2 separate regions of the Homo sapiens genome follow, and region 1 is linked to region 2. The links are contacts of gene promoters, found by promoter capture Hi-C in human tissues and cell types (Jung and others, 2019). All regions are on one chromosome and are shown on one strand. Each heading gives the region's core, a stretch centred on a gene start or on the middle of the fragment in contact. The rest is flanking DNA. Distances are from core to core; before and after follow the strand shown.

Region 1 (6,383 bases), core at 1,949-4,448, 190 kb after region 2:
GATACCTAGTTTTACCATCCTGACTAAACCATTATATAAACTTAAAAATGCAAACTTAGCTGATCCCATAGATCCTAAATTCTTTCGCCACTCCTCTTTCTGTTCCTTAAAAACAGCCCTAGAAGCTGCTCCCACACTAGCTCTCTCTAACTCATCCAACCCTTTTTCATTACACACAGCTGAAGTGCAGGGCTGTGCGGTCAGAATTCTTACACAAGAGCCAGGACCGCGCCCGGCAGCCTTTCTATCCAAACAACTTGACCTTACTGTTTTAGCCTAGCCCTCATGTCTGTGTACGGCAGCTGTCGCTGCTTTAATACTTTTAGAGGCCCTCAAAATCACAAACTGTGCTCAACTCACTCTCTCCAGTTCTCATAACTTCCAAAATCTATTTTCTTCCTCACACCTGATGCATATACTTTCTGCCCCGCTCCACTACCTCTCAGCAAGCTGAACTCATTGCCTTAACTGGAGCCCTAACCCTTGCAAATGAATTACACGTCAATATTTATACTGACTCTAAAGATGCCTTCCATATCCTGCACCACCATGCTGTTGTATGGGCTGAAAGAGGTCTCCTCACTACACAAGGGTCCTCCATCTTAATGCCTCTTTAATAAAAACTCTTCTCAAGGCCGCTTTACTTCCAAAGGAAGCTGGAGTCATTCACTGCAAGGGCCATCAAAAGGCATCAGATCCCATTGCTCTGGGCAATGCTTATGCTGATAAGGTAGCTAAAAAGCAGCTAGCATTCCAACTTCTATCCCTCACAGCCAGTTTTTCTCCTTCTCATCGGTCACTCCCACCTACTCCCCTACTAAAACTTCCACCTATCAATCTCTTCCCACACAAGGCAAATGGTTCTTAGACCAAGGAAAATATCTCCTTCCAGCCTCACAGGCCCATTCTATTCTGTCGTCATTTCATAACCTCTTCCATGTAGGTTACAAGCCACTAGCCCACCTCTTAGAACCTCTCATTTCCTTTCCATCATGGAAATCTATCCACAAGGAAATCACTTCTCAGGGTTCCATCTGCTAGTCTACTACTCCTCAGGACCCTCCCTTCCCTACACATCAAGCTCAGGGATTTGCCTCTGCCCAGGACTGGCAAATTGACTTTACTCACATGCCCCAAGTCAGGAAACTAAAATACCTCTTGGTCTAGGTAGACACGTTCACCGGTTGGGTAGAGACCTTTCCCGTAGGGTCTGAAAAGGCCACCACGATCATTTCTTCCCTTCTGTCAGACATAATTCCTCGGTTTGGCCTTCCTACCTCTATACAGTCTGATAACAGACCAGCCTTTATTAGTCAAATCACTCAAGCAGTTTCTCAGGCTCTTGGTATTCAGTGAAACCTTCATACCCCTTACCGTCTTCAATCTTCAGGAAAGGTAAAACGGACTAATGGTCTTTTAAAAACACACCTCACCAAACTCAGCCTCCAACTTAAAAAAAGGACTCTGTCAAGAATAGAGCCCAAAAACTCACCAACCAAACAAGTAATTACACTGAATCCCCTTGGGCACTCTCTAATCGGATGTCCTGGGTCCTCCCAATTCTTAGTCCTTTAATACCTGTTTTTCTCCTTCTCTTATTCAGACCTTGTGTCTTCCATTTAGTTTTTCAGTTCATACAAAATTGCATCCAGGCCATCACCAATCATTCTACATGACAAATGCTCCTTTTAACAACCCCACAATATCACCCCTTACCACAAAATCTTCCTTTGGCTTAATCTCTCCCACTCTAGGTTCCCACACTGCCCTTAATCCTGCTTGAAGCAGCCCTGAGAAACATTGCCCATTATCTCTCCATACCACCCCCAAAATTTTTGCTGCCCCAACACTTCAACACTATTTTATGTTATTTTTCTTACTAATATAAGAAGACAGGAATATCAGGCCTCTGAGCCCAAGCTAAGCCATCATGTCCCCTGTGACCTGCACGTATGCACCCAGATGGCCTGAAGTAACTGAAGGATCACAAAAGAAGTGAAAACGGCCTGTTCCTGCCTTAACTGATGACATTACCTTGTGAAATTCCTTCTCCTGGCTCATCCTGGCTCAAAAGCTCCCCCACTGAGCACCTTGTGTCCCCTGCCCGTGCCTGCCAAAGAACAACCCCTTTGACTGTAATTTTCCATGACCTACCCAAATCCTATAAAACGGCCCCACCCCTATCTCCCTTCGCTGACTCTCTTTACGGACTTAGCCCACCTGCACCCAGGTGATTAAAAAGCTTTATTGCTCACACAAAGCCTGTTCAGTGGTCTCTTCACAGGGACACGCGTGAAAGAGAGAACCCTGAAATCTGGCATGCCGGTGAAAGGATAAGAATTTCTTATGAGTCAGTCTCTGGGCTCTTTCCCTCTATGCAAACTGGTTAAATATAAAGTAGAAGTCACGTATATCTCCTCTGTAAGATTTTAAATTAATTGGTTTAATAATAATAAAAGCTTAAGTCAAATATTTTGTCAGAAAAGTAGAAAGTGTAATGCCTTTTAGTTCATGTGACTTTAGCAATAGTTGGGAAATAAAGACAGTTTTCAAGATTATTGGAAAAATACAGTTGTCTTCAAAATGTAAACATGTGGTGTACATTATGTTCAAATACTAGGTTTGCTAAATCCTTTAACATCATAAGCTACTCCTTTGGCTTTTGAAAATTGTTTAACTTGCCTGCTTTCCAGCTAGGTAAGGCCTGGGGACACGTGGAGTTAGCCATGCCCCTAGCTGTGCTGGAAGTAGTCAAACCTTATCAGAAACTTTATCAGAACTTACCAGTTTTTTTTGTTTTTGTTTTTGTTTTGACAGAGTCTCACTCTGTCCCCCAGGCTGGAGTGCAGTGGCGCAATCTCGGCTCACCCACAATCTCCATCTCCCAGATTCAAGCAATTCTCTGCCCTAGCCTCCTGAGTAGCTGGAATTACAGACGCCCGCCACCACACCTGGCTAATTTTTTATTATTATTTTTAGTAGAGATGGGGTTTTACCATCTTGGCTAGGCTGGTCTTGAACTCCTGACCTCATGATCCACCCGCCTCGGCCTCCCAAAGTGCTGGGATTACAGGAGTGAGCCACCGCGCCTGGCCTAACTTACCAGGTTTTATGTTAAAATTCGCCATTATAGGCCAGTCACAGTGCCTCGCACCTGTAATCCCAGCATTTGGGGAGGCCGAGGCAGGTGGATCACCTAAGGTCAGGAGTTCAAGACCAGCCTGACCAACATGGTGAAACCCCCATCTCTAGTAAAAATACAAAATTAGCTGGGCAAGGTGGTGCCTGCCTGTAATCCCAGCTACTGGGGAGGCTGAGGCAGGAGAATCATTTGAACTCAGGAGGCAGAGGTTGAAGTGAGCCGAGATCATGCCATTGCACTCCAGCCTGGGCAACAAGAGTGAAACTCTGTCTCAAAAAAAACAAATTTGCCATTATAACATGCAATTAAGACTACTAGAAACAGTTTTACATGCAAGGTGTATAAGAACAGTAGAAAGTGTTGGGGGTTTTTTTGTGTGTGTGGAAGGTTACAAAAGGTTTTTGCTTCTTTAAAATTTCTGAGTCATCATTTTGGCAAAATAAATAGTTTACGGTAATCTGGAATTCCAAAATCAAACTTCAGTTTCAAAATTGTCTTTCCTAATGCCTGGCTTTCTAGATGAATCAGAGGGCCCCTGAAAACATCCAGAAAAGAGGTAAACAGGATTATTTGACATGTTTAGGTACATGGGATTGACAAAATGATGTTAAATCTTCTTTAGGTTATATTTTTGTGAATAATATATTCCAAAATTGTATGGGATTTCTCAAATTCTAATGTCTAAGTATATGTTACCAATCACAATTATAATTATGTTAAGTTATTGTAAACCACAAAAATGACCAAATTTTCTTGTATAAAGCTACTAACCCACGTAAAACAACAACAACAAAAAATTAATTACATATCAAGAAAAGACTTTCATGTTAAACCAGCTAATACTGAAATTGTTTAAAATAGTTTATAACCTGTCGCTTTGCAGATGCCGTCACTGCCACCAGGAGCCCTGTACTATCAGCCATGGTCAACCCCACCGTGTTCTTTGACATCGCAGTCACGGCGAGCCCTTGGGTCACGTCTCCTTTGAGCTGTTTGCAGACAAGATTCCAAAAACAGCAGAAAACTTTCATGCTCTGAGCACTGGAGAGGAAGGATTTGGTTATAAGGGTTCCTGCTTTCACATAATTATTCCAGGATTTATGTGTCAGGGTGGTGACTTCATATGCCATAATGGCACTGGTGGCAAGTCCATCTATGGGGAGAAATTTGATGATGAGAACTTCATCCTAAGGCATACACGTCCTGGCATCTTGTCCATGGCAAATGCTGGATCCAATACAAACGGTTCCCAGTTTTTCATCTGCACTGACAAGACTGAGTGGTGGATGGCAAGCATGTGGTCTTTGGCAAGGTGAAAGAAGGCATGAATATTGTGGAGGCCACGGAGCGCTTTGGGTCCAGGAATGGCAAGACCAGGAAGAAGATCACCATTGCTGACTGTGGACAACTCTAATAAGTTTGACTTGTGTTTTATCTTAACCACCAGACCATTCCTTCTGTAGCTCAGGACAGCACCCTCCACCCCATTTGCTCGCAGTATCCTAGAATCTTTGTGCTCTCGCTGCAGTTCCCTTCCATGCCTAGCTGGACTGCAGAGTTGAGTTAAAGTTTATGATTATGAAATAAAAACTAAATAACAACAAAAAATTGTTTATAACCAATGCTTGATCCCATATTCCTAGGAAAACAATTAAAGCTTCAGGTATATTTGGTCTTCTGGTCAGCCATTTAAACATTTTATAAAGGGATTTCATTCCATTGTTATTTTCCATGCATGTTTTCTGGTTGTAGAAAAGCTTTCCCATGCAAGAGGGCTGATGTTATAACAGTAGATTATTATGCTACAGTGTATTTTCACCAGATTAAAAAAAAAAGCTTTTTATGGTTTGAATCTGCTGGAAACATCAGAGAAAGACTGTCCTTGCCATCTACACTATAACAAAACTTCAGGACCTTGAACTTTGGGTTCATAATCTCACAACTGAGAAGGGCCCCTCCATGCTCTTGGAGCTGTGCACCCACTGGAATGCTTAAGGTAAAACTAACTAGGGAAATTTCTCCCAAGAAGAAGATGACATCATTGATGTGAACAGCTTTTCCCAAGTTCACAGATTAAGACTTCTACTATCATGAAACTCTTATTTTTGAATATTTTTTCTTGCTTATGCCTTCTACGAACAATAGAAGTGGAAAAGGGGTCTGTTATGTGCACTTATGGGGAACATTTTTATTTGTGAAGGAGTTTGCAGCCAGCCTTATACATGGATAAAGGCCCAATGTATGTAAGAAACTTTAATGGTAGATGTGTTAGCTCATAATCAATCAAAAACAAAAAATTGATTCACTCCACATAACCCACATCGTGGGTTAAAGAGAACATTGCCAGAAGTCCTTCACTCTTCTGAAAGGGCATCATTTGTTAGGTCCTTTTTCCATGGTTTAAAGTAAAAGAAGCAATGATTAGAAATGTATCCCTCATGATAGGTTCCATAGCAAATTCTACTCTAAAGGCTACAGACTCTAAATTCTCTTGTGAAAGTTATAATAGAATTGGCTAAACAGCGAAGTATCTGTGCAGCTGCTGGCACTTGTGGCCTATACAGAAATACATCAAATGAAGACTATAGAAATTCAGTGGTAGGAGACTGACAAAGAAATTGATTAGTCAAGTCTCTCTCTGTTGCCCAGGCTGAAGTGCAGTGGCGTGATCTTGGCTCACTGCAACCTCCGACTCCCAGGTTCAAGCAATCCTCCTGCCTTGGCCTCCCAAGTAGCTGGGATTACAGGTGCACGTGACCACACCCAGCCAATTTTTGTATTTTAGTAGAGATGGGGTTTCACCACGTTGGCCAGGCTCATCTTGAACTCCTGACCTCAAGTGAGCCACCTCACCCAGCCGTGAGTAAACTGTATCTAGCTCATTCTTAGATCCATTTGATTTTAGGAGGTTTGGTTTATGGGGACCTTGGGTAAGGAGTATACTCCCAAATTCTTGGTATTATCCTCCTAATAGCCATAATAATGGTCTCCCTGACGAGCTGTATGCTCTCAAAGGTTTTAAATGCTTGCATGAGCCATCTCTAGAATGTCATATGGTCTCTCTTCAACTGGAATAACAGGAGCTCAAAGAAATATGCAACCATGAGGACACCATAACCTATAAATGACATGCTGAGACCAGAAACCCAAAATGATGGTAACTGAGAGTGGCACTGAGGCCCTAGGTTTTGGTCACACTCTCACCTAAGTGAAAACCTGATCAAAAAGGGAATTTTTTTCA
Region 2 (6,469 bases), core at 1,098-3,597:
CTTGGCTGAGATCCTGGCGGCCTTATTGTCCTTCCTGGTGGAAGCGGGTATGGCCACACCTTGCAGGCAGTGGCAGGACCTGAGCAGACCAGGAAGATACATCAGTGACCAGCACGCACAGTCTCATTTCTGCCCAGGTGGGCTGGTCCCTCCCACTTTTCCCGCCCTCAGCCCCCCACATCTGTTTTGAGGTGGGAGTCTGAGCTTAGTGTTTGGCTGTCATTAAGGTCTTAGGTAGGGAATGAGGGGACAGACTCCCTGCCCCCAGAAGGCTGCTGACATACTCACCCACCCAACAGAGCATGGGTCTCCTACACTGTATGAAATATTCTCTAAAATGTCTTGGGCATGCCCCTTCCCTAGCCTGGGCCCAAAGGCCCTATCTGTAAGTTGATGAGGAGATGAAGTGGGTGAGCTCTAAAATGCTTCCTTCTGATGACCACCCAACTTGTCCATCATGCCATGAAGGGGGCGCTTACAGAGTGTCTTCCCTGTGCTGGAGATCAATAGCACCTGGGAAGTTAAGGCCTCTGCCCTCAGTGGGCTTCCTCTCTAGTAAGGGGTCGCACATTAAGCACGCATGAATAAATAATCACAGCTTATAGGAGGAGCTATGAAGAAAAGTCAGGAATGTCTGAGAGAACAGTCACTGGGAACTGAGGGCTGAGGAGGTGCTTGTACTCTGACCCTGATGTGCTTGCAAGGAGGGAGGTGGGGTGGGAACTATGAGCTCCTCAGAGCACCCTGGAGGTAAAGCTGGTGGCACAGACTTTGTGCAGGTGAGGGTGTGTGTATGGGCTGTGCAGAACATAGTGAAGCCCCCTCCACCAGGAAGCCCTCCCTGACTGACACTGAGGTCACTGAGTCTCCCCTCTGGTTTACTGAACCCTGGATGTGTTTCTTGCAGCCTCTGGTTGGCCCACCAAATTCAGGACTTTCCTAGAAATTCTCCAGCACAGTCAGGATGATGCAAGAGAGGGCTTCCTCTGCAGGGGAAAGAGAGGGTGCTCTCCATTGGACCATAATAATATCCTCAGCATCAGACTCGGGTGTTTTGCAGGCAGCATGCTGGGGACTTCTGTGGCCTTGCTTGGTGACAGGGAATGGGGTGTGATGAGCTGGGGCAGGCTTCCTGGGGATGCTTTCAGCCAAAGATGAGCCCTGTCTGCCCTTGGCCCTGCTGAGAGGGTAAGTTGAGTCATGAGCAGAATTCAACCAGTTATCAGATGGAAGGCCAAGGAAGCTTGGGGAGGGCTACTGAGGGGATACGGTAGGCTTGTCTGTGGAGAGCAAAATTCTTCAGTCTACAAAGTTCTTTTCTGGGCTCCTTCATCTTTCGGTTTCTCTTCCAGCTCCCTCGTTTTGGGCCTCTTTTGTTTCCCCATTCCCCTCCCCTGGGCCTTCCCGTTTGGAAAAGGGGTCACATATCCTCACCCTGGAGGCGTCTGCCCCTTCCACACAGTTGGTGTTGGAACAGTGGAGCTCAGAGAGGCCGATGCTGACCGCGTAGATGTCCAGCACCAACAGTGGGATTTTGGGCCCTGTGGGGGACACAGAGAGAACTCTCCGGGAGTGCGGCCCCTTGGCCTCCCCTCTGGGTGCCCAGTGGGCAGTGGGCCTGGGTGGCTCAGAATCCCAGCCAGGAGCACTGAAGGTCAACAGGCTCCCGCCCTGAGTTTTCTGAGCCAGGCCTCCCTGTTTCCTCCCCAGCCAGTGGGGAGCGCAGTGAGGGGCGGGGCCTGGAGTCTTGGGAGCTCCCTGGACAACAACATGCATTTAGCGCAGCTCAGTCTCAGAGCCAGCAGGATATGTTTTCTTAAAAAAAAAAAAAATGCCTAACATCTTGGCTTTCACCGAAGGGTTGGTATCTGCTTTGTACACTTTGGCCTTCTTGGCTTTTCACTGAAACACACACACATGGATGCACACTCACTTCCACACACAAACCCACACCAAGACAGACACACACACACACTCACACACAAACTCATGTACATGGTTTCATACCCACATCCATGCAAACACACATACAAATCCAGAAATACGCACCCTCACACCCACAAACTTGTACACACACACACACGTATACACACCAACACACATACAACCCTGGCTTGGACAAAAGCTTCCCGTTTTTTCTTGTTTGAAGTGGAAATCTCCCACCTTCCATGAGATTCAATTTCTCGCCCTTCCCCCGCTAAAATCCTCCTGGCCCCATCATTTCTTGGGTCCTTTCCAGACAGTGCTGTGTCTTTAAGGAAGTTGAAGCTGCTAAAAGTGAGTGAGAGAGAGAGAAAAAACACAACCCAAAAAAATTTGGCATCTCTTCCCCCCTCAAGTTTCTGGTGTCACTTATGAAACACAGGTCCTTGTTGCTGCAGAGAAGCAGTTGTTTTGCTGGAAGGAGGGAGTGCGCGGGCTGCCCCGGGCTCCTCCCTGCCGCCTCCTCTCAGTGGATGGTTCCAGGCACCCTGTCTGGGGCAGGGAGGGCACAGGCCTGCACATCGAAGGTGGGGTGGGACCAGGCTGCCCCTCGCCCCAGCATCCAAGTCCTCCCTTGGGCGCCCGTGGCCCTGCAGACTCTCAGGGCTAAGGTCCTCTGTTGCTTTTTGGTTCCACCTTAGAAGAGGCTCCGCTTGACTAAGAGTAGCTTGAAGGTAAGCCAGTGGGGAGGAGGGCTCCAGGGCCAGCGGCGGGAGCGGGAGGCCTGTTGGACATAGGGGCTGGTTCCCTCTTGGTCCATCCCTGCTGGTCTGAGGTGCGTGGGACAATCCCTAGCTTGGAGCCGTCCAGGGGGCATCTGCTTCTTCCACAACCCACAACTGAGGCCCCAGAAATCCCAGCTGCGTTTGGGCTGAGCCTCTGGCCTCACCCAAGTCAGCTGAGAGGTCCTGGCGGGGGTTTATTTAGGCAGCTGCCTGGCTAAGTTTGAACAGAACAGGCCACGGGTGTGATTCCACAGAAAAGGCCTGGTGTCTGCTGCGGTCATGGCCGGAGGAGCGGGAGAGGGCGGGTGGAGTGGATGGGGGTGGTGTGCACTGCACAAGGGGCCTCGTCTGGGCCAAGGCAAAGCATACCTATGGGGGGCTCCGGTGGGAGGGACTGCGGCCAGGATGTGGGAGGGCAGGGGGAGGTTCTGCAAAGTGCTGGGGGAGGGGGGTGGCTGGAAAACAGATTTCAAGTCATAAAGTCAGCTAGGAACAGGCCGAGGCAGGGAGAACTCTCCACTCGGAGGAGGAGCTGGGGTCCTCTTCCATCCCGTCTTCATCCTGCCTGGCTGCGTGACCTCGGGCAAGTCTCCGCCCTTCTCTTGGCCTCAGTTTCTCCTTCCGTAGGATGGGGGCGGTGGGCTAGGTGGTGTTGGGATTTAGCTGGGTTATGTGGGACAGGGCCTCCTGATGGGAAAGAGCTCTGGCTGGGCTTGTGGGAGGAATGAGTCCCTTTGGCAGGTTCTCGGGATCCCCTGGGTGACATGCCTTTCTCTGCAGGAGGCACCATGCAGGAGCTGCATCTGCTCTGGTGGGCGCTTCTCCTGGGCCTGGCTCAGGCCTGCCCTGAGCCCTGCGACTGTGGGGAAAAGTATGGCTTCCAGATCGCCGACTGTGCCTACCGCGACCTAGAATCCGTGCCGCCTGGCTTCCCGGCCAATGTGACTACACTGAGCCTGTCAGCCAACCGGCTGCCAGGCTTGCCGGAGGGTGCCTTCAGGGAGGTGCCCCTGCTGCAGTCGCTGTGGCTGGCACACAATGAGATCCGCACGGTGGCCGCCGGAGCCCTGGCCTCTCTGAGCCATCTCAAGAGCCTGGACCTCAGCCACAATCTCATCTCTGACTTTGCCTGGAGCGACCTGCACAACCTCAGTGCCCTCCAATTGCTCAAGATGGACAGCAACGAGCTGACCTTCATCCCCCGCGACGCCTTCCGCAGCCTCCGTGCTCTGCGCTCGCTGCAACTCAACCACAACCGCTTGCACACATTGGCCGAGGGCACCTTCACCCCGCTCACCGCGCTGTCCCACCTGCAGATCAACGAGAACCCCTTCGACTGCACCTGCGGCATCGTGTGGCTCAAGACATGGGCCCTGACCACGGCCGTGTCCATCCCGGAGCAGGACAACATCGCCTGCACCTCACCCCATGTGCTCAAGGGTACGCCGCTGAGCCGCCTGCCGCCACTGCCATGCTCGGCGCCCTCAGTGCAGCTCAGCTACCAACCCAGCCAGGATGGTGCCGAGCTGCGGCCTGGTTTTGTGCTGGCACTGCACTGTGATGTGGACGGGCAGCCGGCCCCTCAGCTTCACTGGCACATCCAGATACCCAGTGGCATTGTGGAGATCACCAGCCCCAACGTGGGCACTGATGGGCGTGCCCTGCCTGGCACCCCTGTGGCCAGCTCCCAGCCGCGCTTCCAGGCCTTTGCCAATGGCAGCCTGCTTATCCCCGACTTTGGCAAGCTGGAGGAAGGCACCTACAGCTGCCTGGCCACCAATGAGCTGGGCAGTGCTGAGAGCTCAGTGGACGTGGCACTGGCCACGCCCGGTGAGGGTGGTGAGGACACACTGGGGCGCAGGTTCCATGGCAAAGCGGTTGAGGGAAAGGGCTGCTATACGGTTGACAACGAGGTGCAGCCATCAGGGCCGGAGGACAATGTGGTCATCATCTACCTCAGCCGTGCTGGGAACCCTGAGGCTGCAGTCGCAGAAGGGGTCCCTGGGCAGCTGCCCCCAGGCCTGCTCCTGCTGGGCCAAAGCCTCCTCCTCTTCTTCTTCCTCACCTCCTTCTAGCCCCACCCAGGGCTTCCCTAACTCCTCCCCTTGCCCCTACCAATGCCCCTTTAAGTGCTGCAGGGGTCTGGGGTTGGCAACTCCTGAGGCCTGCATGGGTGACTTCACATTTTCCTACCTCTCCTTCTAATCTCTTCTAGAGCACCTGCTATCCCCAACTTCTAGACCTGCTCCAAACTAGTGACTAGGATAGAATTTGATCCCCTAACTCACTGTCTGCGGTGCTCATTGCTGCTAACAGCATTGCCTGTGCTCTCCTCTCAGGGGCAGCATGCTAACGGGGCGACGTCCTAATCCAACTGGGAGAAGCCTCAGTGGTGGAATTCCAGGCACTGTGACTGTCAAGCTGGCAAGGGCCAGGATTGGGGGAATGGAGCTGGGGCTTAGCTGGGAGGTGGTCTGAAGCAGACAGGGAATGGGAGAGGAGGATGGGAAGTAGACAGTGGCTGGTATGGCTCTGAGGCTCCCTGGGGCCTGCTCAAGCTCCTCCTGCTCCTTGCTGTTTTCTGATGATTTGGGGGCTTGGGAGTCCCTTTGTCCTCATCTGAGACTGAAATGTGGGGATCCAGGATGGCCTTCCTTCCTCTTACCCTTCCTCCCTCAGCCTGCAACCTCTATCCTGGAACCTGTCCTCCCTTTCTCCCCAACTATGCATCTGTTGTCTGCTCCTCTGCAAAGGCCAGCCAGCTTGGGAGCAGCAGAGAAATAAACAGCATTTCTGATGCCCCTCCGTGTCTGCCTGGAATTTTGTCTGGATCTAGGAGCCTCTGCTGGGAGATAGGATCAGGAGCTGAAGAGTCAGGGCAGCCAGCCTGCCTGCCCACAGTGGCAGGGGCCTCTGAGACTCCAACAGACTGTGGAGGCACAGGAGTGCTGGCCCGATGCTGTGTCAGGGGCTGGGCCTTGCGGTGAGCTGAGCTGCAGATGTTCCCTTCCTCCAAACCATCCCACAGGACAGCTGGGGGCAGGAGCCTGGGGTGGCTGGCGACCCTGAGCAGCGCCTGATGTCAGCAGTGGCTTCAAGAGAGGCATTTTGGAAAGGCGCAAGGAAATGGAAGTGCCTGGGTGGTAGCTCCTCTTCCCTGTCCTGCTCCTGGAAGAGATGTTAGGAATGAAGAGGAAAGAGGGGACAGGTGGGGCAAGATGGAGGAGACAGATGAGGAGAAGGGGACACAGGACAGAGGAGGAGAAAGCCCCAGAGAGACTGGGAATAAGAGAACATATTTACATATTTGAGGGAGAAACCAGGGGGGAAACAAATCGTACTTATCTTTCTCCCAAAGAAGAAATGGTATTCCAAGAGGAAAGTCCAAATGAGGACTGCAGATTCCCTGTAGGAATCTTTCCCCACAGAGCAAGTGGATCAGTAACTGGCCTGGGCCGTGTGTGTGTGTGTGTGTGTGTGTGTGTGTGTGTGTGTACAGCAACCTGAGCGGTGCGTGTGTGTGTGTGTACAGCAACCTTCAGCCTCTCCAGTGCATGTGTGTGTGTGTGTGTACAGCAACCTTCAGCCTCTCCAGATGAGGAGCATAAGGATGAGGTCCTAACCTGGAGACTCTGCACAACCTCCTATCTGTGCCAGGTAGGATATATGTCTTCCTACTGCCTCTATCCCATCCCTTTCAAGATCGAGGATGCTGCATGCAGAGACAATGGCCTGGGGGAGAGGCTCTGTGGCCTTTCTCC

Evidence for each region. Contacts are between HindIII fragments. The study calls those that stand out against the background at their distance.
Region 1: a fragment that was not itself captured here is called in contact with the fragment with the promoter of ISLR in region 2 in 6 of the 25 tissues and cell types used here (H1 embryonic stem cells, liver, lymphoblastoid cells and 3 more).

The regions. Positions count from the first base shown.
Region 1 is chr15:74,357,489-74,363,871 of GRCh38, forward strand. The region is part of intron 1 of CYP11A1 (cytochrome P450 family 11 subfamily A member 1); the gene reads right to left. It also overlaps the pseudogene PPIAP46. Among named protein-coding and RNA genes, the nearest start is that of CYP11A1, 7.0 kb to the right of the region's middle. The HindIII fragment of the contact is 5,215 bases long and covers 592-5,806 here.
Region 2 is chr15:74,171,363-74,177,831 of GRCh38, forward strand. ISLR (immunoglobulin superfamily containing leucine rich repeat) reads left to right here and starts at 2,348. Exons shown (of 2, transcript NM_005545.4): 1 at 2,348-2,657; 2 at 3,489-5,509. The coding sequence starts at 3,497. The coding sequence ends at 4,783. RefSeq lists enhancers at 1,093-2,081, 2,082-3,069, 3,070-4,058, 5,166-5,682. The HindIII fragment of the contact is 13,967 bases long and covers 1,685-6,469 here.